5 separate regions of the Homo sapiens genome follow, and all the other regions are linked to region 5. Evidence: promoter capture Hi-C in 16 types of primary human blood cells and fetal thymus (Javierre and others, 2016). All regions are on one chromosome and are shown on one strand. Each heading gives the region's core, a stretch centred on a gene start or on the middle of the fragment in contact. The rest is flanking DNA. Distances are from core to core; before and after follow the strand shown.

Region 1 (5,000 bases), core at 2,052-4,551, 190 kb after region 5:
CAGCTACTCCGGAGGCTGAGGCAGGAGAATGGCATGAACCCGGGAGGCGGAGCTTGCAGTGAGCCGAGATCGTGCCACTGCACTCCAGCCTGGGTGACAGAGCGAGACTCCGTCTCAAAAAAAAAAAAATCAGAAAATCATCCAAGGTTACACAGGTAGTAATTGCCTATCAAGTTTCAAAATTATACTAGATTTTTCCTGAAGGGTAAGTTTAATTTGAATTGGATATAAAAGGATATTAAAAGAAAAACTTCAGCCGAATTAAATTTACAGGAGTTTAATTGAGCAATGGACGATTCGTGAATCAGGCAGCTCCCAGAATCACAGCAGATTCAGAGAGACTCCCGGAGTGGCTTGTGGTCAGAACAAATTTATACACAAAAAAATGAAGTGATGTACAGAAATCAGAAATTAGGTACAGAAACAGCTGGATTGGTTACAGCTCAGCATTTGCCTTATTTGAACACAGTTTGAACACTCAGCAGTGTATGAGTGGTTGAAGTACGGCTCCTGGGATTGGCCAAGACTCAGCGATTATTACAGGCACATACTCCTAAGTTAGGTTTTCATTCTTGTCTACCTATTAAATTAGGTTGCAATTCACCCACAAGCATTCAAATATAAAAGTACAGAGTCCATCTTAGGCCATATTTAGTTTGCTTTAACAACTGCTACGGATGTATTTGGAAATACACTTCTATGTCGTGGCTGACTATCCTTTACAACTGGTATATTGATGAGGAACTCGGAAATTGACATTGGCACTTCCATGCTTAGTCAAAAGAAGGATGGGGCCTGTTGTGTGACAACCTGTGATATGGTAGAATAATAAGAAATATATATATTTGATCTTTGTCCCTGGTTCCTGACATACAGCTCCTAAAACTCTTGTAGATAGGGATGCTAGGAGAATCTTTTGTTCTAATATTTGGTTTTTGACCCCAGTTCCTGACACAGAGCTCCGAAATCCCTTGGAATTTCCTGGGTGATAGGAGCATCTTTTGTTCAGATGAAGTGAATCTTGGTGGACCCCTAGATAGCTTCAGGATGGGGGCTGGTTACCAGGGAAACCAACCATGTGATTATGCAGCTGGAACTTTCAGCTCCATCCTCTGACCTCTGGGGAAGAGAGAAGGGCTCAAGTTGAGTGATCACCAATGGCCAATGATGTCATCAATTGTGCCTATGAATGAATCCTCCATTAAAATCCCAAAGGACAAGATTCAGGGATCTTTGGGATAGCTGAACATGTGGAGGGGCTGAGAAGGCATGGAAGTTCCACACCCTTGCCCACATACCTTTCTCTGGGCCTCTCTTCTATCTGGCTATTCATCTGTCCTTTGTAATATCCTTTATAATAAATGGGCAAACATAAGTAAAGTGTTTCCTTGAATTCCGTGAGTCACTCTAGCAAATTAATCAAACCGGAGGAGGGGCTTGTGGGAATCCAGATTTGTAACTGGTTGGTTAATCATAAACAACATATAGTCACAACCTGGGACTTGTGATTGGCATTTGAAGTGGGGGGCAGTCTTTTGGGACTGAGCCCTGAACGTATGGGATCTGACACTAACTCCAGGTACACAGTGTCAGAACTGGGTTAAATTATAGGACGTAGAGTTGGTGGCCACTGGAGAATTGGTTGTCGGTGGGAAGAAATTCCCATACATTTTGGTGACAAGAGGTGAAGGGCTGTACTGAGTGTGTGAGAGTAAAGAGAAAAAAGTTTTTTGTTTTTTTTTTCCTCTCAGAACAACCAAAGCCAGATTAAAAGATGAAATGGCTGAACAATTGCCAGCCCATATAGAGAGCTAAATCCTCACTGGGATCACACAGAAGAGCAATGATGTCAATTAACTGTGTTTCCACAGGTTATCTGTTATACAGCTGGAGAAATGCAAGTTAGTCTGGTCCTTCTCCACTACAGTAGACAGAGTGGCTTAGAAATTAAAACACTGCTCCTCGGCAGAGGTATGTACCTACATGCGCGTACTTCTGCAATTCACACATGCAAATTGTGCAATGATTCCTTTATTTATCAAAAATTTACTTCCTTAAATATGCCTCCAAAAAGGTATCTGGTTCTAAAGATCGCACAAAAGAACGGGAGTAGAAGAAAAGTAAGTGTGATTGGTGAAAAAACAGAAATGAAAGACAATTCCAGTTGAGTTAAATGTCCCACATTTAGGGCATGTAAAACTACATGCCAGTATATAATTTTTATTAAGTACACACTAAGCAATGGATAATGAAAATAATGGCGTGTTTTGAGGAAACCTGGGCTATTGATCTTACAGGCGGTGATAGAAAATACCATACTTGTGCTGGTATTTTCAAATGGTGGATGTGCTCACTGATTTATAAGTTTAAAGCTATAAAACTAAAGCTGTAACAAACAAGATGCAACTGTTGCTATAAAACTTCCAAGTCCTTAACCCTTCTTCCTCCCACTGAAATAAGTGTTTGTAGAGCATGATTTTTGAGGTTTCTGTGGAGCACAAATGTCAGTTCCTGCAGAACAGACTTTAACAGGCTTGGATACAATTGCATGGGTTGCAGTGAACTTTAACACCAATGATGTCAGGATATTGTGTTCTGATACATATGCAAAGTTTATTAATAAGCACAGCATCGGTATTTTTAAATCGATATTTTAAAGTACCACTGTTTTATTTGTCCTGCTCATCAAATCTTAGCATATTAACTCTTAGAGCTATCCTTATAACCAAGACCTATATTCACAGTAGATTTTTTGTATTCCTCCCTCATTCCCCCAACCCAGCCCCCACCCTACTCCCTACATTTTTGGACCCCATAGGAGGAAAGAGGGAGAGAACTGTCAGAAGGAAGAAGGCAGTTGGTGTGAACCTATGAAAATCAGCGTTTTCCAAAGTGTTCAAGAACTTTACTTCGATCCCAAATCAGTTCTCTGGAGGAGGTAAGAGTTTACTTGGCATGGCCCGATGCAAACCCTACCCTACGCGTGGATTTTGTTTCTCCCCAGAGCCTCTTCAGAATCTTGGTTAATTCCAGAGCTGCTAAGGGACTCCAGGGTCGCGGAGGGAGGGCCCTGCGCCCCTCAGCGCTGCTTAGGGTCTTCCTGGGCGACTGCACTGGGAAACTAAGCCGGCCCAGGCGATGTGCCCCGGGCGGCCCCAAGAAAAAGACTAGCGGCTCAGAAGCCACGGGCTTTACCTCTAGGAAGTGGCTATGAGGCCCGGTACAGTGGCGGCTGTCTCCTCTTGGAACCGCGCAGTGAAAATCGAGTGCGCCAACTCGGGCCGCAGCTCCGGAGAGGGGTGGGGCAGGGACAGGGTCATCTCCATAGGGATCCAACAACACGGAGCCACCACCCCGCCCCACAGGCCCGCAGCCCCTCCCGCCGCCGCGCCCGGACGGCCAACCTGCATCTCCCCAGCTGCAGTGAGCAAAGCCGCCCGCGCCGTGCGAGCCACCGCCCTTCTCTTGAGGCCAGCTAGGCTCGGGTCCCGGCTCCTTTCCCTGCCTCCAGGGAGCTTGCGGTGGGAGAAAGCTTCCGTGGGGTCCCGTGGGTCGCGGCACGTCTCGGAAGCCCTGCGAGGTGCCCAGCAGAGGTGCCAGACCCAAGGCCGTGGGACCCCAAGAAGAGACTTGGACACTGAAGCCAACGTTTGCTTGATCTCAAACAAAGCCAGCGATGTTAATTAAGGCTGTGTGATGAGGAAAGTGGAGTTTCTTATTTTTTGTCACATTCATCTTCAGCAGATCCTCAGAAAATGTTAATATTTACTGCAGAATTACCAATTTCAGCATTATACAGGAGGTACAAAAACAAAACCAAAAAACCCTTCTTCATTAGTTTCAGGTCAAAATGTCTTTTAACTATTTATTGTGAAGCCTGTTTTTTTCTTTTGTATGTAATAGTTATGGCCATGAAAAGATGCTCACAGTACATTACTTACAAAAAGCAGCTTAGAAAACCAGCAGAATGGTACGATCTATTTTTTTTGCAACGTGTGTAAGAAATCTGGGAGTATGTACACAAATAGGTTAAATGGTTTGCTCTGGTAGTTTTAAAAATCATCTGTAATTCAATTTTTCCTACAACGAATAAGCAACATCTATGTAATAAACCATAAGTTTCATTCTAGTAAAGTTTCATATGAGAAATGTGATCTTGCTATGCTGCCTAGGCTGGAGTGCAGTGGCTATTCACAGGCCTGGTCATTGTGCACTATATTTTTATTTTTATTTCAAATATCTTTTTCTTTTTCATCTGTATGCCAGTAAAATCATCATTGTACACTATAGCCTAGAACTCCTGGGCTCAAGCAATCCTCCCGCCTCAGCCTCCAGAGTAGCTAAAAGTACTGGTGCCTGTCACCAAACCAGGCCTTAAATTTTATTCTAATCCAGGCACTGCATTTTTTCCTGTTTCCTTGAACATGTGTTTAAGGAGTGTGAAAGGATACAAATTAGATAAGCTAATATTTCGCTACCTGGGACCCATTTAGGGCCCTGTGACACAAAGGGCGAATGAACCAAGTGAATAAACAAGGTCAATCCACTGCTCTGTCACAACCCGCAGGAACCAGCTTTTTGCTTTACTCTATCTCAGGACCAATCCAAGAAAAACATGTCACATGACAAAGTGTCCTTTCGCCCTGTCAGACCCTAGAGTACGACTTTTTCCCCCTTAAATCCCTATTCTCACAACCCAAATGAAGTTTCCTCCATGATGCTGTAATTTTTAAAAGGGGTATTAAAAAGACCAATTTACTGATCAAAATACTTTGAATTCAGAAAGCCAAAAATTATTAAAATCAAGATTTGAAAAATATTCAGTAAGTCCCTCTCCTCCCCTCCCCCAATTAGGTGCTTATTTCTGTGGCCTGGAAACAAGGAGACAGAAGCATGAGCATCTTCTGCAACACAAAGGTAACTGAGTTATAAATAAGCAAAATGTGTTCTATCCATACCATGGCATATGATCAGCCAAAACAAGAAATGAAGTACATGCA
Region 2 (5,073 bases), core at 1,589-4,088, 240 kb before region 5:
TTAAATAGGGAAAGATGAAGGATTTATTCAACATACATTGAGGGCCTTCTCTGCATGAGGTTCTGTGCTAGCCCCTGGAATGACAGTGGTTACAAGTCTAAGCAAAGTGTTTCACGACCACCCACACCTTGACCCTGTCTGCTCCAGATCAGAGCACCTTGTTGTGTGACTCAGGCCTGATGACTCCTTCCACTTCCAGTGCTAGGAACTCAGCACCGTGGGAAGGGCCTGGAAGAGACTCTGGGCTGTCTCATTCACCCCAAAATGTTCAGCAACTAAAAAACAAGAAGGAAAACTCTGACAGCATGTTTATTAGAAATGATACCCAGATCTCCAAGTAGAGAGTGTAGGTTCTTGCTAGAGAATGGGGGTTTTATGAAATGTGTGTGTGGTTATTTGTGTGTTCATGTATTTATGTGTCAGTGTGTACTTGTGTGTGAGGGTACGTATGAATATTTGTGTGTAAAACGTGCCGGTATGTGCAGTTTTCTGGGAGTGCATTGTATGTATGTAGTTCTATATGAATGCTTGTAGTTGCATGTGACTCTATTTATGCATAATAAAGTAATGGAGCCTATGTAAGGGTGATGGTTATATGCAAGTTTACAATGTGTATGTGTTGGGGCTGGGAACTGAAAAGCTGAAACACTGCAGATGTAATTTGAGTCATGTGGCTAGCTACTTTTTCATAGGATCCCATCTTGCTGCAGACTTTTGTTTGCTCAACTAATCCTCTTTTGCTTACAATGTCACAAGGCTCACTTTTTTTGGCTTCTGAACAAACAGGCAGGTGTGTGAGGCTGCAAGTATAGTGTCAGCTATTCATGAAATAATTGCATGCACCACCAGCCCAATGTGACAGTCATCATGGACTCACAGCTCCATCCCCAGGCAAGAAAAGGAGTATGTCTTGAGAAATTCTCCATGCCATTCCTCACAGAGACCAGCTGCAGAGCATGGAGCACAAGAAGTGGTAGCAAACAGGCTAAATTGATTCTGGCCTGCCTAAGCGGAGAGGAGCTCTTCAGATGGTTACTATCTTTAACTAGGGTGACGTCCTTGGAGGCGGAGTCCCAGTCTCCTTTTTCTCTGCTATTATCCAGCTGAAATCAAGCCCCTGAATAGTTTCCCTGAACCAAAAGCCAAAGAGAAATAGTGTCCAATCCATTTATGTTTTAATCAGTGAGTCAGAAGGTAGTAAACCAGGACTGATTGCAGATCCTACTGGCCTATCAGCCATGCCCATAACTCATTCTTTGTGCCAAGAGATTTTTTGCTGTGATACAATTCATCTCCCCAAAATATTTAGCACTGACTAGCTATATAGTTGTAGGTGGACCATCTGGCTTCTCCCTTGCCCATTATTAGAAAACCGATATTGAAGTCCTTCAATTCAGTCTGGGAGTAATTTAAAGCAATACCAAGAGGAAGGAGAAGGAGAGCTTTTTATAACAAACTAATTGTCTGCCACACGTGTTAATTAATAATCTTCAAAAGTTAAAGGGAGCAAAATAGGTAAACATAAATAAAAGCCAAGGATAGATTGGGAGAATATAGTCACAGTAAATACAACGAAGCATTAACGTCCAGGAAAAAAAGAAATAGTACAAAGTAATAAGAAAAGACAACTCAGAAGAAAGTGGGCAAGGGCAATGGAAGATGGGGTGGGAGGTGCATTGTCTATCAGAGAATATTTAATGGTAATAAGACCAACCACAAGCCAGTCTGCTTTTTATTGTCACCATGCACAGCAGTCCCAAATAATGTGAGTGGTAGTTTTCCTCCCTGCCAGAGATGATCACACCCGCTGTGTGTCCCACCCTCATTTCTAAGCTCCTGGCATGGGATGTGAACGGGCAGTTTGTAGAAGAAGAAATACAAATAACTAAAACACATCAGGTAAATAAAAATAAACAGGCCAGGCATGGTGGCTCACACATGTAATCCCAGCACTTTGGGAGGCCAAGGCGGGCAGATCACCTAAGGTCAGGAGTTCGAGACCAGCCTGGCCAACATAGTAAAGCCCCATCTCTACTAAAAATACAAAAATTAGCCGGGCGTGGTGGCAGGCACGTGTAATTCTAGTTACTTGAGAGGCTGAAGCAGGAGGATCACTTGAACCCGGGAGGTGGAGTTTGCAGTAAACCAAGACCACGCCATTGGTCTCCAGCCTGGGCAACAAGAGAGAAACTCCATCTCAAAAATAAATAAATAAAATTTTAAAATGACACACAATCACTTTTGCTCATTAGCCTGACAGAACTTTCATACTGATAATACCCAGTATTAGAAAGGATGAGGGCAAATGGGTATACTCAGAAACTGTCAATATGGTATTGGGTCATCTGTCCTTTTCTCGTACATTTGTAGGAGTTCTTTCAAAGGGCAATTTGGAAGTATTGATTATCTTTCCCTAATGTGCAAAAATAAAAATTATTTAGCAAAGAGCAGACATATCGCTTTTTCCTGCCCATGTCCCTTCCTTGGAAAAAATACTTTGTCCTGGATACATGCAGTCTGGATGGGGCCATCAAGCACAGAGCCCTACCCACTCACCCAGTCCTGGCCTCAGGAGACGGGCCTAAAACAGTGTAACACTTGATAGAGTATTTAGTTCAAAGACAGTGGCAGCTCCAGAACTGCCATAGAAGAGGGCTTATGGACTGCAACTGGGTTGAAAGTGGGGCAGGAGACTATTTGGCTTGTCATGAAGTTGCACTTTCACACTAATTTTATTCATACGTTATCTGGGGGTTTGTGTGAACTGAAGCCACTCCGATCCAGTGTGCTCGCCCACGTGTACCAAGTGGGGTCCAGTCTAACCTAGCTATTGGGTTTTTTTCTGCTGTAATTCTGCCTACCAAGAGGAATCACCTGCAGGTAGAATCAAGCCAAGAGGAGGTGAGTGGAGTTGCAAGAAGAGAAACTTAATCCTGGTAACCATATTTCAGCCCCTGGAACATGTTGGTCTTTTTAGATCCATTAACTTCCCTTTTTTTTTTTTTTTTTTTTGAGATGGAGTTTCACTCTTGTTGTCCAGGCTGGGGTGCAGTGGCATGATCTCAGCTCACTGCAACTTCTGCCTCCTGGGTTCAAGTGATTCTCCTGCCTCAGCCTCCCAAGTACCTGGGATTACAGATGCCCACCACCATGCCCAGCTAATTTTTTGTATTTTTAGTAGAGATGGGGTTTCACTATGTTGGCCAGGCTGGCCAGGCTGTTCTCAAATGCCTGAACTCAGGTGATCCACCCGCCTCGGCCTCCCAAAGTGCTGGGATTACAGGTGTGAGCCACTGCGCCCAGCCTAGTTTCCCTTTTTAAGAGGGTATGGTTGCGTTGCTGGATGGGTTGCTGTCATCTGCATCCAAACAGCAATGAGTAGCAGAGATGAGAAGAAGCATGAATGGCTACACCATGGTGGCACACCAAAAGAAAAGAGGTCTAAATTCTAATAATTAACTTCTATGGAAATAGTTCCAAAATCTCATTTCTCATTTTAATTTCTCAACATATCTTTAAAAACTCTTTATTGCAAAAATGATGATTTATTACAAAGTGAATTCTCACATGTAACCCACCACCTGGGTCAAGAAATAGAGCATAGTCAAGCATCCTACAGGTTACCCCTCCCTCCTTCTTAGAGAAAAGCACATTTGTTTTGCCTGTGTGTGTATATGAGTGCCTGTGCGTGTGTGCATTTGTGTGTGTAAGGGGGCTGTTTTTTGTTTTTGTTTTTACTTTGTGAAGTTATCCTTTTATGTCTGGCTTCTTTTGCTCAAAACTATCTATGTGCAATTCATCCACGTTTTGGCTTGTAGGAGTAGTTCATTGATTTTCATTGTCATATAGTGATCTATAGTATGAATATACCACAACTTATCTATTCCGATGTTGACTGACATTGGAATTGTTTCCAATTAGTGTCCACTACAGATAATGTTGCTGTGATATTTCCTATGTGTATATGTAGGAGATAAATTGGTGGGTTATATGACATGTGTCTATTTCAGATATAGGAGATACTACTAATCAGTTTTCCAAATAGATTGTAACAATAATTTCAACTACCAGTGTATGAGTGTTCCCATTGATCTATGTCCTCCCCACACATCATGTATCAGTTGTTTTCATTTTAGCCATTTGGAAGCGTATAGTAATATCTCACTGTCGTTTTTTTTTTTGTTTGTTTTGTTTTGTTTTTGAGACAGAGTCTCACTCTTTCTCCAGGCTGGAGTGCAGTGGTGTGATTTTGGCTCACTTCAACCTCCACCTCTCGGGTTCTAGCGATTCTCATGCCTCAGCCTCCTGAGTAACTGGGATTACAGGCACACACCACCACACCTGGCTAATTTTTGTATTTTTAGTAGAGACAGGGTTTTGCCATGTTGGTCAGGCTGGCAAAACTCCTGACCTCATGATCCTCCCACCTCGGCCTCCCAAAGTACTGGGATTACAGGCATGAGCCACCACACCTGGGATCTCACTGTAGTTTGTTTTGTTTTGTTTTGTTTTGAAACAGAGTCTTGCTCTGTCTCCCCAGCTGGAGTTCAGTGGTGCAATCTCAGCTCATGGCAACTTCCACCTCCTGGGCTCCAGGAATGCTCATGCCTAAGCCTCCCGCGTAGCTGGGACTATGGGCGTGCACCACCATGCCTAGCTAATTTTTGTATCTTTTGTAGAGACGGGGTTTTGCCATGTTGCTCAGGCTGGTCTTGAACTCCTGACTTAAGTGATCTGCCTGCCTCAGCCTCCCAAAGTGCTGGGATTACAGGCATGAGCCATGCACCTGACCCTCATTGTAGTTTTAATTGGCCTTTCCTGATGACTAATGAGGTTGAGCACCTTTTTCTATAGTTATTGGTCAGGCGTATAGCCTCTTTCGTGACATGCATATTCATGATGTTTTTTTCCCTCATTTCCTATGGTTTATCTGTTTTTTCTTGTTCATGTGTAGTAATGCTTTATATTTCTGGAAAGCAGTACTTTATTACTTAACAATTACAAATCAGTTCTGCTATGCTGTGGTTTACCTTTTTATTCTCTTAATATACTTTGATTAAAAGAATTTATCAA
Region 3 (5,137 bases), core at 1,505-4,004, 170 kb after region 5:
TGAGACAGACGTCCTCAAGTGAGCCCTCACAGGCTGCGTGGGAAGAATGGAAGAGGGGGTAATGAAGTGGGAGAGGGGGCTGTTCTCTCTTAATACACCTTGGTGGATATTTTTCTGCCCTCCAACCCCATTTCAAGTCTGCTCTGATGGAGACAAGTGACGAGAGTGAATCCTTCATGGGCTGTTTATGATCTCACACGCACACGCACATACACACCTGGGTCAATGCATTCCCCCTCTAGGGAATGCAGTTGCATGAATGCTGCCCCACCCATCCAGGAAAGCTGCAAGTTTGAGCAGCTCTGGCTCTGGAACCAAAGGCCTTTGTTTGAGGAATTACCAGGCACTAAGCAGAGGCAATTCAAAACCGGTTCCACCAGTGTGGCAAGGGGACTGATTCAAACTCCTCACGGGTTTCTCTGAGTGTAACAGACACAAGCAGCCCAGTTTCCTTTAAGGAGTCACAGGAAAGGTCAACCTAGTCAAGTGGTAGGGGAAAGACATCACTGGAAACCATTAGTCATGTGGACGACACGGGGCCATAACATACCAAGAAAAGCCACAATTGAGGTATAAAGTTGCTAGGCATGAAAGACCAGCAGAGAAGTCTTCCCAGGAGAAGGGACATTTTAGTTTGCCAGAGGGATGGTTTAAGAAGCTAAACCTTTAAAAAATGTCTTAAATATCATAAAATTCCACTTAGGAAATCATCTTAAAACTTACTAGGGAATACTTATTAGGCCAGGAAAGAAAACTCTAAGATATTTGAATATATCTCATAGAGATTATGAATAATTTTTTAAAAGAAAATTGTGTTGACAGTTTCCACCAATATTGCAATACCCTGTTTATAACTGACTGAATTAAAACAAAATTATTTGGAAATTATAAAACCATCTAAAACAATGGCCTCTCTACCTTGAAAGAAAGGTATTGCACAAATATAGCCTAGCTTACATATAAACATTTCAAGTATTCAAATAATACTAATTTCTTTCATTTATTAATTTATTTACAGTTATTGGGTAAGCAAGACTACAGGAATAAATGATCCAAAAGAAATGCTTAATAATTAAAAATTGATTGCACTACCATTGGACCCAGCAATTCCACTCCTATATGTATAGCTAAGAGAAATAAAACATCTCTATGCAAAACTTGGACACAGATGTTCATAGCAGCACTATTTATAATAATTATTTACAATAATCAACTGAGGAGTGGATAAATAAAATATGGCACATCCATACAATGGGATAATATTTGGCAATAAAGGAAAGAAGTACTGACATGTGTAACAAAATGGATGAACCTTGAGAACGTTATAATATGTGAAAGAAGCCAGTCACAAAAGACCACATACTGTCTAATTCCATTTATACGAAAAGTCCAGAATAGGCAAATTTATAGAGACAGAAAGCAGATTTGTGTTTGCCCAGATCTAGAGGGATGGAGATGAGAAGTTACTGTTAATGGGTAGGGGGGTTCTTTGTGGGATGATGAAATGGTCTAAACTTAACATGTGATGATGATCACACAACTCTGTGAATGTACCGGAACCACTGAATTGTACCCGTAAATGGGTGATTTTTATTGTATGTGAATTATATCTCAATAAAGATGTTTAGGCCGGGCGCGGCGGCTCATGCCTGTAATCCCAGCACTTTGGGAGGCCGAGGCAGGCAGATCATGAGATCAGGAGATCGAGACCATCCTGGCTAACACGGTGAAACCCCATCTCTACTAAAAATACAAAAAAAGTAGCTGGGCGTGGTGGTGGGCGCCTGTAGTCCCAGCTACTCAGGAGGCTGAGGCAGGAGAATGGCATGAACCCCGGGGGCAGAGCTTGCAGTGAGCTGAGATCGCGCCACTGCACTCCAGCCTGGGCGACAGAGCAAGACTCCATCTCAAAAAAAAAATGTTTAAAGGAAATTTATACTAACATTCATGAAACTATGAAATACAGTCTGCTCTCTGAAGAAATGCTGCTGCTATCCAAAAACAAACAAACAAACAAAAAAAAAAAGTACTTTCACTGAACAGGTTAGTTTTATATTCTTGTCTCACAGAAAAAAGAATTCAGTTACCGGACAAAGGATGCAATTTCCAGTGACAAAAAGTCAGGCCTGAGTTAAGCTGCTTCAAAATATACCATAAGATCTCTAATGACCTCCAGTGGTCACAACTAAAATTGCCTGGTTTATGATACGTGAGCCTAGAACATGATGCACAAAGTGGTTATAAATGTGAGGTCTGGTCTGTTATTTTCTTATCTTGAAAGCTGCAAAGTTGGAGTAAAAAGAAACATAGCCAATGACTATCATAAAATGTCTTCCCCCTGATTTTTCAACATTGACTGAAGGGCCTGTTTATCTGTGCCCTGTCTTTGCAGCCTCTTTCAACAGAGCCAGGAAGATGCCTGTCTCCTTCCAGTGACTCCATGGGGAGAGTCCGTTAACAATCTGCTTTGCACCCACAGATGCAGGAGTAGCTGACAGGTGAGGAGGAGAGAAAAAATGGCTGATCAAAAGAGACTGGCAGGAAAACATGTAAGAAAGAACAGGAAGCAAGTACTCCACCTAAAATATGCCAATTTGATCATGCACCACTCTCAGATATTTTTGCTGGGTATCTAAGACATCCGAAGGTTACCCTCTCCTGCAACCTCACCACCAAGTTCTAGTGAAAGTACCTAACATCAAATGATGCCATACCTAGAGTTTTTCTAAACAAACATTAGTAAATAAGCCCAAACAACTTCACACAGTCTCCTCTGTAGGACTGATGAAGTCCCAGCTCTTTCTCCTCTGGGCAAAAGATTCATTCAAAAGGACAATGTTTCAGAAATAGTATTCTATTATTTTTACCCTCATTGTTGGCCTCGGGCTACCAGAAATCCTCCAGACTAACATAAGGCTTTTTATCTGGCATTGAGGGCTGGAAAACCATCCTGCCACGTACCTGCTACCAGCCTGGCTGGATTCTTCAACCACACCCAGGCAAGCTGGAGGGCTCTCTAGAATATTTCGGTCAGTCCACACATATCTTGAATTTCACGAAAGAGAATCCGTTTCTAACATTCATCTGGCTGGTTAACAAGCCACGGGTTGTTTTGAGAATAATGTCTGATATTTGCTATGCTAATTAGTAAAGTATCTAATAACTCAGGTATTGTGACCTTCCAATCTAGAGCTGGCTAATGACCCCTAGGGTATTCATTCCTGACCAGAACAGGAGCTGACCCTGGGCATAACTTCAACTCACAGATGTCACACCATCTGTGCTGAGTGTTTTAAAGTAAATTACAGACATAACATGAGGGAAGGGGAAGAAAGAGAAAGAGAACCCTCTTCGTAATCCTTGACTAGGGCTGTATAAGTCTTGCCCATATTCCTAAATGTTTCAACCACTGTCACTTGTCATATATTTTGTAGATCCATCCATTCATTTAATGATTATGCCTACCTATGTCCCAGACATCCATTTGCAATATATTGTCTGTCTGATGGTTCCAAGGAAAATTTAATATGCTAAGAGAATGTTAAAAATTCACTGACTGAAGCCATTGTGTTTTTGCCAACATGAAACAGTCCCACCATAGTATGAAAGCATTAAATCCTCCCCACGGCTTCACTTCAGCCTCAAGGCAAAAGCAGGCACTGGAAAAGTCTGTTTATAAACCTTAAAATATCAATTACCTTGTTTTTTTTTCTCCCTAGGAACAAAAAATCTCTTAAAGGTTATATAAACATTTATATACGGTTTTCTTTAAGAATCAATGTTAATTACATCATTAGGCTACATTTACCTTAATTGTGATTTAGTGCATCTTAAAAAAATTGCGAATAAGAATTCTTGACGTTGCTTGTTAGTCCAGAGGTCAAACCAATGACTTATAAGAGCCACTCTTTCCTGAAAGAGCTATAAGGGGGAGGGGAGGAAGTGACATTTGCTGTACAGTTCATTGTTTTTAATTGCTAAGCAATCTTTAGACAATCTACCAGCAACCTCACAGCTAATATTTGCAGAGTGCATTACAGTTCACAGAGCGCTTTCACATATAGAGAGAAAGGTCTCTCCTTTCAGGTTAAACTTTTTACCCAGGGATACTGACAGGCCCAGGCTTGTTGGGTGGGTTGATGGGAAAGACTGGCAGTGATGTAATTATAGAGGGGCCCAAGAAGGGCCTCTGGAAAACAAAGAGGTAATGATTCCTGGATCTTGTTTCTACCTAGGCTAATGTGGCCTAGGGAAACAGAGTCCACACATTTCATTTTGAAAACATATACGGGCTACACTCATTTAATTGTGAAAACAGAACCATTTGAGGTAGGTATAACTTCACTAACTCACAACCCTGGATCTTTATAGCACCCACCAAGATGAAAGTAAGTATCGCTAAATAGCCAACAGAGACATGTCTCTAGGGAAGACATACATTAAGGACCAGAGTCCCCCAAACCTGCGTTTCGGTCCAGCTTTGCTCAGATAGAGATAACAAACTCACTGTTATTATCATAGGTCAGGCTTTAGTCCCAGCCTGGTCTAGTCTCCTTCTCTGGTGAATGAGGCTGAACTCACAAGAGCACCCAGTTTGCCTTCTCTATTGCCAGAGCCACCATAGGCCATTAAATGACGACTTCCTGAATTACCTTAAAATAGGAGAGGCATCCCCAGGCCACATGGAACCATCCAGTTGGCACAGGAGGGAAGAGAGGATTACAAATACAGAGGAACACAAGCATGAATACTCCCAGCCCCCACCACCAAAATCACCTTCTCACCTCCTTCCCTATCTACAGCAACTGTGTGTCCTAGAGGTCTCTATTTTGTTCCTGGAGGTACTGAGTGGAAGGGGAGGCCATCTGGAGCCTCCCTTAAGGTAGGAGATGAGAACTGGGGTGAGAAGAGACTGTCTTTGGGACAAAGCTAAGTTTATTTTTGTTTAAACTGAAAAGCTAAATTCTTTAGAGAGTTTTTCTTTAAAAATGTGGCAACATGAGACCCAATATATCACAGGAAAATTAACCTTACGAATTAAACTTGTTCTGTTTTAAAGTATGTAACTTACCTGTCTATTTAATGACTTGTTGCTAAAAGGTGTCCAGGCACTAAATCTGGTGTGGAAGCTCTCCAT
Region 4 (4,851 bases), core at 2,234-4,733, 200 kb before region 5:
TTCCCAAATTGTTAATTGGTTGAATAAATAAATCAGAAGTAAAAACCCAAGATTCAGCCTCCACTTATTTCACTGTTATACTTAGAATAATCCAATTAGTACTGTGATCTATGAGAACCACTCAACAAAGAAAAATCATCTTGGATTAAGTCCATTGAAGTTTCCTAAGGGATTATCAACTCAAAAAAATGCCATTAATATTAGGTTATTAAAAAATGAATTAACTGTATGCTTAGCTGCTCACAGAAGAGGATAAATTGAGCAGGGATGTTAGGAACTCCAGCTTTGGGAAGTTACTTTCGCTTGACACAGACCTGAAATTAGCCTTGTGTTTCTTAGGAGGCCAAGTGCGCCCTTTTCCATTCTGTCTCGCGTCCCTGTGGTTGCTTATTTAAGGCTGTTGATGTCTGAATGAACTCAACACAACTCCCTGAGTCTCCCAGGTACACCGCCCCACACCCAGGATAACCAAAAATGAATAAGTAACAGAAGTATTCCATACATTGTTTCTAAATTTAAATCATTTGTTGAAATATGTGAAACAGTGTTAAGGGCTAATAATTAGGAACCCACTCATTAAGGTTTTCACAGAGGACAGGAAAGATTTTGGTGAAAAAAATCTAGCCCAGCACTGTCCAATAGAACTTTCTCTAGTAATTGAAACGTTGTATAATGGGTGCTGTCCAATATGGTAGCCACTAGCCACATGTGACTACGGAGAACTTGAAATATCGTTAGTGCAGTTGATAAACTGGATTTTTTTATTTTTATTTTTTTTGAGACAGAGTTTTGCTCTTGTTGCCCAGGCTGGAGTGCAATGGTGCAATCTCGGCTCACCGCAACCTCCACCTCCCAGGTTCAAGCGATTCTTCTGCCTCAGCCTTCCCAAATAGCCGGGATTACAGGCATGTGCCACCAAGCCCGGCTAAGTTTGTATTTTCAGTAGAGATGGGGTTTCTCCATGTGGGTCAGGCTGGTCTTGAACTCCTGACCTCGGTGATCCGCCCATCTCGGCCTCCCAAAGTGCTGGGATTACAGACGTAAGCCACCGCGCCTGGCCAGATAAACTGGATTTTTAATTAAAAAAAAAAAATTAAACTTCATTTGAACAGCAGTATGTGGCTAGGCTGCTGTACTGAATGGCACAGCTCTAGAGGTCTTGATTCTAAGCAATTCTTGTATCTGTCCCCCTTTCTATACAGTACAGGGATTGGGAAACAGGATTTTTAAGGTGTCTTCTTTTTCTGACGTTTTCTAACTTTTTAATCTTAACTACTTAAATAATCCCACACAGGAGCACTGCTATGGTCTGAACGCTTGTGCCTCCTCCTGCAAATTCATATGTTGAAACTCTAAGCCCCAAGGTGATGGCTTTTAGAGGTGGGACCTTCAACACCTGTGAAAAGAAGAGAAAAACAAAAGCAAAAAACAACAGAAGGGGTGGGGCCTTTTGGGAGGTCATTAGATTATCAGGATTCTGATCTAATCAGAATGAGTTTGGTGCCCTTAGAAGTCCAAGTATGCTTTGTTCACACCTTTGCCATGTGAGGACACAGCTAGAAGACATCATCTATAAGAAACAGGCCCTTGGCCAGGCGTGGTGGCTCACTCCTGTAATCCCAGCACTTTGGGAGGCCGAGGTGAGCAGATCACAAGGTCAGGAGTTCCAGACCAGCCTAGCCAATGTGGTGAAACCCCGTCTCTACTAAAAATACCAAAAATTAGCTGGGCATGGCGGTGGGCACCTGTAGTCCCAGCTACTTGGGAGGCTGAGGCAGGAGAATCGCTTGAACCTAGAAGGTGGAGGTTACAGTGAGCTGAGATCGTGCCACTGCACTCCAGCCTGGGCAATAAAGCGAGACTCTGTCTCAAAAAAAAAAAAAAAAAAGAAAGAAAGAAAGAAACAGGCCCTCAACCAGACACCAAATCTGTTGGCACCTTGATCTTAGACTCCCCAACCTCTACAACTGTAAATAATACATTTCTGTTGTTTATAAGTTACGCAGTCTAAGGTATTGTTATAGCAGCCTGAACAGACTAAGAATCACTTTTATTCTAAATGTGTAAGATATGAAGGCAGTTCTTATGATCCAGGTATTTTCTTTACTGTTAATATTTTGACATTTGGTTTTCTGAAAGGAATCCCCAAGGAAGTAGGCACCCAAAACACAAAACTAGGAAAGAAAATTGTCTGAATTCCCCACAGCTGCCAGCACATTTGTTTGACAGACAGCTAATGGGCACAGCCCTATAGTAGGCATTATGGATAGAAGTTGTCAAAGACAGTCCCTGCCCTAGAGGAGAGCCTACTTGGAGTGACATTTACATGGAATCCCATCACGTGACTTCCATAGTACAACAGCTAGCAATATCTCTGTATCCCCCATCTGAGTGACTTCATACCCGACAAGATCAACCTTGCTAAATGCTGACATAGATCCTATAAAACTGTTTTCATCTGGCTCTGACCTCTCTCCCCGCAAACCTCCACAGCTGCAAAGACAATATTGTCTTTGAAGAGGTGAAAGCTTACTTCCTTGGCCCAAACTGGAAATCTGACCTGGAAGTTTGTATTTTCAAAAAGAGCACATCTCTACAAGTTGAGAACTCCATTTATTTCAGACCTTTCTTATTTCCTTTCTTTTGGGTTTAATAATAAATTCTGAAATCCTCAGACTCATAATTAATATCTTGTTAATTAAAATTACACATAAACCAAGAAAACTAAATGCCAAAGTACTTGCTCTAACCTCAATATAGAGGCAGTTCTAATAATAAAAAACACTAATTTGACTATTTTAAATATTCTTCTTAGATAAAATCATCCTTTTGAATTTTAATGCTTAGCAGTTTTGAATAAAGCTTTCACATGTAGCTTAATTTGCTAGATATTTTCTTAGAACTTTCAACTAATGCAAATCCAAACATGCAACATGAAAAACATCAAAAGAGAAATCATAAACTTTTGGGCAACAGAATACGCCTGTCACCTCCTTTGCAATGCTTTTACCCCGAAAGCTGTAATAAAACATTAGTGCTTCTTACACTACACATCATATGATTGCTTACTGTTAAAACCCCAATTCCAAAGAACCACAGGTTATATCCCACCTACATAGAATACGAGGTTAAAGAAATCTGGGCCGGGCATGGTGGCTCACGCCTGTAATCCCAGCACTTTGAGAGGCTGAGGTGGGTGGATCACCTGAGGGTCACGAGTTTGAGGCCAGCCTGGCCAATGTTGTGAAACCCCGTCTCTACTAAAAATACAAAAAGATAGCCAGGCATGGTGGCACATGCCTGTAATCCCAGCTACTCAGGAGGCTGAGACAGGAGAATTGCTTGAACCCTGGAGGTGGAGGTTGCAGTGAGCCGAGATCATGCCATTGTATTCCAGCCTGGGCGACAGAGCAAGACTTCGTCTCAAAAAAGAAAGAAAGAAAGAAAAAGAAATCTGGAAAACAATTGAGATTCCAACACAATTTTTCAAAAAGCTCTTGCTTCCCGGCATACATACAAAGTGCTACATATGCATTAATAAATCTAACAAAAATGTAAATGAGAGACGTTGGGAGTGAAATTTCTCTTTCAGAAATTTTTCAGTTCAATAAAATTCTTAATACAAAAATGCAAACCTTATAAGTCAAATGCTTTGTCAGAATTTCGATTAGATTTTTTAAAAATAATCTACACTTAAAATTTCATGTTAGGGTAGATCACAGATCCTGTTTTAGATAAGAGAAACAAATGGATCATTTTTCCATCCAAAGAAGAAATAGGTTTTTGAGCACAGGTCTCAGTTTGAAGCTGACCCAACTAGGGAAAAAACAAATACGGCTGTCACAAAATTTCTATCCATCCTTATTAAGACAGATTTTATCTGCCTGCCAGTTGCACAACTTTCTCAACCCTCTTCTCATCTCACTGCCTCACTGAGGCCTGGTTTTATCTCCCTTTCCATCAACGCACCCATCGATTTGAGAGACATAAAGTAAAGCCACTCTCAGAAGCTCCTGTATCCATGACACAGGATCTGCAATTCCTCCACTGCTATTAGAGAACTCTTCAGGAGCCTCTTAGTAAGAAGGCCCCTGGGAAGCTTTCTTAGGGGTTACCACCTAACTGGTTGGTGATGGAAAAGGCCATCAAACATTGAGCCATTTTCCTCATCGGTAAAATAAGTGTTGAGTCAGACAATCTTGCCCTAACATAAGAATGCTTCCAGAAATAACATAAATGATCCTAATACGGAACATCTTTGGCACTTACTCCATGCCAGTGACTGCAATAAACACTTAATTTAATGATTTCATTTAACACCCCCAGGTAGGGACTCAATATTTACAGGTGAGGGAAGTAAGGATTTAAACGAGCTTGAGCAGTAGAATCTTCTCTCAATCAACCTTTCCTTAACCAATCCAGCAATTAACTGCCTCTAAATTGCTTTGTAAAGCCACACTATGATGAATGACCTCGGCCAGATGAATGCTGGCAGCTGGGAGCCTCCTCGCTATCAGGCACCATCTGCATATGGTTTCCCCCAGCAGAGTTCTGTACTTACCAAAAGTTACTCAGGTTTATTCCCAGACTTGCTTATGCCACAGTTACGTTTGCCATTGCAATGATGTAATTTAATAAAAAAGTGCACAAACCAATGAAATATAATTATAAAAAAAAAATACTGTTTTGATAACTCAGTAGGATGCTTTGAGCAGATGAGGCAAATCATATACACAAAATACTGAATTAAACATGGGGAAAAAAAAGCAAAAGATTTTAAAAAATGGAAATCCTACAAGTCTAGAGAGGTTCTATATTTATAGTATTTCTCATGTGTCATTAAGTTCCAAT
Region 5 (4,589 bases), core at 746-3,245:
ATAATTAGCCGTTAAAAATGTAACAGCTATATATGTAATGTCAGATAGTGAAAAGTGTTATAAAGAAAAAGAATTCAGGTTGGGTGCAGTGGCTCATGCCTGTAATCCCAGCGCTTTGGGAGGCTGAGGTGGGTGAGCCCAAGAGTTTGAGACCAGCCTGGGTAACATGGCAAAACTCTGTCTCTACAAAAGCCACATACACAAAATTTAGGTGGGCATGGTGGCCTGGGCCTGTGGTCCCAGCTACCTGGGAGGCTGAGGTGGGAGAATCACCTGAGCCTGGGAGGTCGAAGCTACAGTGAGCCAAGATTATGCCACTGCACTCCAGCCTGGGTGACAGTGGGAGACTCTGTCTCAAAAGAGAAAAAAAAGGAATTCAGATAAGGGGATAGTGCATGGTGGGATTATTTTACAGCAGCTGTTGCAGGAAGGCTGCTCTGAGGAGGTGACATATGAGCAGGGACCTGAAACCATATGAGAGAATACGCCATGCCATGGTTTGTGGAAGGACTATTTTAGATGGCAGGAACAAAGGCCCTGGGGCCGACAAGAGCTGCAAGGCCTAGGAGAGGTGGCAGAGAAAAAGATGCAAAGACAATTGTGAGCCAATCCCTACCCCATTGTGCTCTTTCTGTTTACACCTTTGGAAGGCAGCTGTCTGGGGGGGGTCTGATCACTTGCTGCAGGTGCCCTGAAAGGACACATGAGGGGCTGCTGTAGCAAACTGAAAGTCTTAGAGATGGGAAATAAGCTTAATGGATAGTATATACTTACCTTTATCAAATACTACTAGTCAAGTCAGAAGACATTGACAGGTCTAAAATCCCTTATCTTTCTTAAAAAATAGAAAGATAATAGAATGCCTGTGACTGTGTACATATTAACATTCTACAAAGACCTGGAGTGAAATGAGTAAATATTGACACTAAGTGGGATCCATAAAGGCTAGAAATAGCTTCATGCAAGCTTAGTTTAGATTTTGCCTCCAAATGAGGCAGGGCAGGTTTTACTTCCAAAGGGTTACAAAAAAAAGTCTTTGGGTTTTCAGTGCGCTTTGAATTTTGCAATTACAGATAAATGACTGGGAACCTGTAATAATTTCCTCATATGTGTCATTTATAGGATCCGCACTCTGGGAAACAACTTGTAGAAGACAAAATAAAAACCAGAACTCTGGGTAATTCTGCCTTAGCTCCCGTCTTTGAAGTATTTTATATTTGCTAAGTATAAATTCTTAAGATATTCTACTTGAAATAGCTGAAGAATCCCCTCTCTGGGACAGGTGCAGATTAAAAGAGCGCCACTCCATGATTTTCATAAAGGAGAAAATACGGAAGGCAGCCCCTGTGGGCAGCCCCGGGCCTACATGAGTTGATAGAGTTGAAGGTATAAATGTAGAGTATTAAGTTCCCAGTGACCGGAATGACCTGGTGAACAAAGAGGACAACTTTGCCAGTTTTCCCCTCTATTCAGCACATTTTGTTTCTCAGGTAAACATGGCTTGAAGCACGAGTGAGATGAAGCCTCAATGTTGGTGTCTACGTGGAGGCTTCCCGGATAGCCAGGATGTTCATAGCCCGGATGTTCATAGCCCTTCAGAACAGATGGAAATACTGCATTTATCTTCATCTGTACCGAAAAGGTACAGATAGAATGATAATAACCTGAACAAGGCTCCCCTTTCAATCCAATTATTCAGACGCTTAGGACCAGAAACTGCGAAACATAAAAACTGCAACCCGGATCTTAGTTATCTCGGTCTTAATGAGCTGCCGGCTGTTTCCCACTGCACCCCCCTTTCCGGGGGTCTTGCTGCTGAGATCTCCGCGCAGAGGGCGGCTCGGTCATCCCGCCGCCGGGCGCCGGCCACCAGGGGGCGCTGCGGCCTCCTCCCTCTCCCGGGAGCGGCCAAGCCAGCCCGGTGGGTGTTTCTCTCTCCCTCTCGCGCTCTCTCCTCCCGGCCTCACATCCGGGTCTGGAGCGCGGCCGCCGCTGTCACTGTTGGTGCGGGCGCGTCGGGGCCGGGCCGGGGCACTGTAAATGGCGGCGGAGGGAGGCGGAGCGGCGGCCACGCTCAGCCCAGATCCCCCGAAACTTTAGGTTCGAAGCCCCACAACTTTCCGGGAAGCGCTGCCGCTCCGGAGGCGTGGACGGAAGGGGAAGCCGAGGCGGGAAGTCTGGGGGAATCGGCAGGGAGCCGGGGAGACTCGAACCCGCGGCGGGGGCGGAGTCCGCCAGTGCCTCGCGCCTCCGCGGCCCCCGCCTCTTTCTCTGCACCCTCCCCGCGGCCGGAGCCGGAGCCGGAGCCGGAGCCGTAGTCGCAGCCGCAGCCGCAGCCGCGCGCCGGGCCTCGCAGGCAGCGGCGCGGCGAGCGCAGCCGGGCCCCCTCCTCGCGACCTCCGGGCCCTGTTGCTCGGGCGCACCTGGCGCGTGTGAGGCCGGGGCCGGCGTTTTCGGGAAGCTAGCAGGAGGCCGGGCCACGCGCAGCCCCTGCCGGCCCAGGTTCCTGGGGCCGGGCCCCGAGTAGTGCATGCGGGGCGGGGCGGCCGTGAGCCGGAGGCGAAGATGGAAGGCTTAACGCTGAGCGATGCGGAGCAGAAATACTATTCAGATCTCTTCTCCTACTGCGACATTGAGAGCACCAAGAAGGTGGTGGTCAACGGGCGGGTGCTGGAGCTGTTCCGGGCCGCGCAGCTGCCGAACGACGTGGTCCTACAGGTAACGTCGCGTCCCGGGGCCGGCGGGCGGCTTAGGCCTGCAGTCACTGGCCTCCAGGAGTGGGAGTGGGCGCCGATTCCTTGGGGCCCGGCGGGGGGCTGGTTCCTCGGGGGGTCCCCGCAGCGGGCAGGGGCCGCAGGTGCCCGGGAGGCCTGGACTCGCGCCGCGGCCAAGGGGGAGGGGGTTGCCCTTAGAGGACGGAACTCCTGTGGTGGGGGTCTGAAGAGCCTCAGCCGGTATCCCCCACGACCCTGAGAATCTGTGCTCTGTACTGCAAGAGCTATCTCACTTGAAGGATCTTAGGTTGTTAATGTGTGTGAATCCTAGAACCTGGCATATAGAGAGCTTTTCGGATCCTGCAGAGTAGTAAAGTTATCAGTATGGGCAAAATGGTTTTTTTAATTCTTGGATTAACCGAGAAGACGTGATAAAGTGAGTTCTATAGATTTAGGAATCGAAGAAGCAGTTTTTTTAAAGGAAGCAAAATTCTTAGGGAAATTTTTTAAAATGTGAACTACTTAGTAGTTTTACAAGTAGGCATACAAGAAGTTGTAATTATCTGTAGAACGTGTGTATGTGATGAGACTGAACAATGTTTTTCAACAGGCATTCGAAAGCATTTGTGGAACTTGTGGATTTGGGTTGGGAGATGAGTATTGAACAGCTGGTAGGCAGAAGTGCGTTATTTGCCCTAATCTGAAGCCCTGGAGGAGCAAACCCTGTAGGTTTAAAGCCTTTTTTTATCATATCTGCTTTTGAAACAGAGGACTTCCTAGAAGTTCTTATCTAATGTATGTGGTGAGCATTAATGCTACTCTGTTTAATGATTCATAGCTGCTAGTAGGAGTCTGTCTAAACAGTATGTTAGGAACAGGTTTTAAGCTTTCATCTTTTATATTGATCCAAGCTAGTTATCCACATCTCCAAAATTTAAAGCCACATGTATAGGTGTATGTAGTGGACTGCAAAGCATTGGACCAGGGTTTTGAAGGCTGGGTCCTTGACCCTACTCTGCTGTTAACCAGCAGTGTGACTTTGGGTCAGGCACTTTCCATTTTCAAGCATAAGTATGTTCATCCACAGAATGAAGGCAAGTTTCTTCCAACAAAAATTCTGTGAAGAATAAAAATGTCCACACACAGGTCTCTGTTTTAGAAGTTAAGTCTGCATTAACTATGACTAAGTTGAACGAGTTCGATCTTTTTAAATGGTCTTGTGTTTTACATTGCTTTTTTAAAGGTGGGATGTCTTACGTGCCAGTGAAGGGCAACGAGGAGTCCCAAATTCATCCTGTTGAAAAGGGACAAATAGTAAATATTTTGGGCTTTGCTGGCCACATATGCTCTCTGTTGCATATTCTTCTTCTTGTGTTTACAAAACACAAAAATGTAAAGCCATTCTTAGCTCAGGGAGATACAAAACAAAGCCTGTGGTCTGCTAACGAAGGGTGCTGGTAGTGTGGTCTATGGTACTCTCCTGTTACAGCTTTGGAGTAGGACTTAGAGATCTGGTCAGAACATGCTCATTAATCATACTCTTTTTGCTCCTTTTGAAGAAATAACAAAGTATACCTTCAAGTTAGGATCTAAATAAAATTAAGGAAAAGCCTTCTCTGTTCTATTTTAGTTTGTCTTTGAGGTGAGAAAGAGTTGAAATAAAACTTTCAATCTTTTTAATGGGTACACAAAGACTTTAGAACTTGAAATGTAATTTTTAGGACAGACACATTAGCATTAATGAATCTTTACTTCAAACATGTTTAATTCAGTGCAAGTTATTTTTATGTTTTGCTCAATTTTATTAACATTCAAAAAATAAATTTCCATTGTCTTTTGGCATAAAGAGAGAGCTTAAATATTCAGGGTTCAGTT

What was found. Contacts are between HindIII fragments. The CHiCAGO score rates a contact against its expected background, and 5 or more counts as called.
Region 1: a contact is called between the fragment with the promoter of ECT2L here and the fragment with the promoter of REPS1 in region 5, in 2 of 17 cell types (endothelial precursors and megakaryocytes). The highest score is 7.7, in endothelial precursors.
Region 2: a fragment that was not itself captured here is called in contact with the fragment with the promoter of REPS1 in region 5 in 1 of 17 cell types (total CD4 T cells); the score reaches 5.7 in total CD4 T cells.
Region 3: a fragment that was not itself captured here is called in contact with the fragment with the promoter of REPS1 in region 5 in 8 of 17 cell types (M2 macrophages, megakaryocytes, endothelial precursors and 5 more); the score reaches 13.4 in M2 macrophages.
Region 4: a fragment that was not itself captured here is called in contact with the fragment with the promoter of REPS1 in region 5 in 5 of 17 cell types (naive CD8 T cells, non-activated CD4 T cells, total CD8 T cells and 2 more); the score reaches 7.0 in naive CD8 T cells.

The regions. Positions count from the first base shown.
Region 1 is chr6:138,794,388-138,799,387 of GRCh38, reverse strand. It overlaps ECT2L (epithelial cell transforming 2 like), which reads right to left and starts at 3,301. Exons shown (of 22, transcript NM_001077706.3): 1 at 3,196-3,301. The HindIII fragment of the contact is 4,734 bases long and covers 1-3,534 here.
Region 2 is chr6:139,226,466-139,231,538 of GRCh38, reverse strand. It overlaps a transcript of TXLNB not described here. Among named protein-coding and RNA genes, the nearest start is that of TXLNB, 63 kb to the left of the region's middle. The HindIII fragment of the contact is 6,911 bases long and covers 1-5,073 here.
Region 3 is chr6:138,813,275-138,818,411 of GRCh38, reverse strand. ECT2L (epithelial cell transforming 2 like) reads right to left here. Exons shown (of 22, transcript NM_001077706.3): 3 at 5,072-5,137; 4 at 3,809-3,921. The coding sequence starts at 5,137. Among named protein-coding and RNA genes, the nearest start is that of ECT2L, 20 kb to the right of the region's middle. The HindIII fragment of the contact is 6,618 bases long and covers 1-5,137 here.
Region 4 is chr6:139,187,347-139,192,197 of GRCh38, reverse strand. It overlaps a transcript of TXLNB not described here. Among named protein-coding and RNA genes, the nearest start is that of HECA, 55 kb to the right of the region's middle. The HindIII fragment of the contact is 1,237 bases long and covers 2,865-4,101 here.
Region 5 is chr6:138,985,659-138,990,247 of GRCh38, reverse strand. It overlaps REPS1 (RALBP1 associated Eps domain containing 1), which reads left to right and starts at 1,995. Exons shown (of 20, transcript NM_001286611.2): 1 at 1,995-2,718. The coding sequence starts at 2,566. RefSeq lists silencers at 1,764-2,003, 2,194-2,493. The HindIII fragment of the contact is 2,634 bases long and covers 969-3,602 here.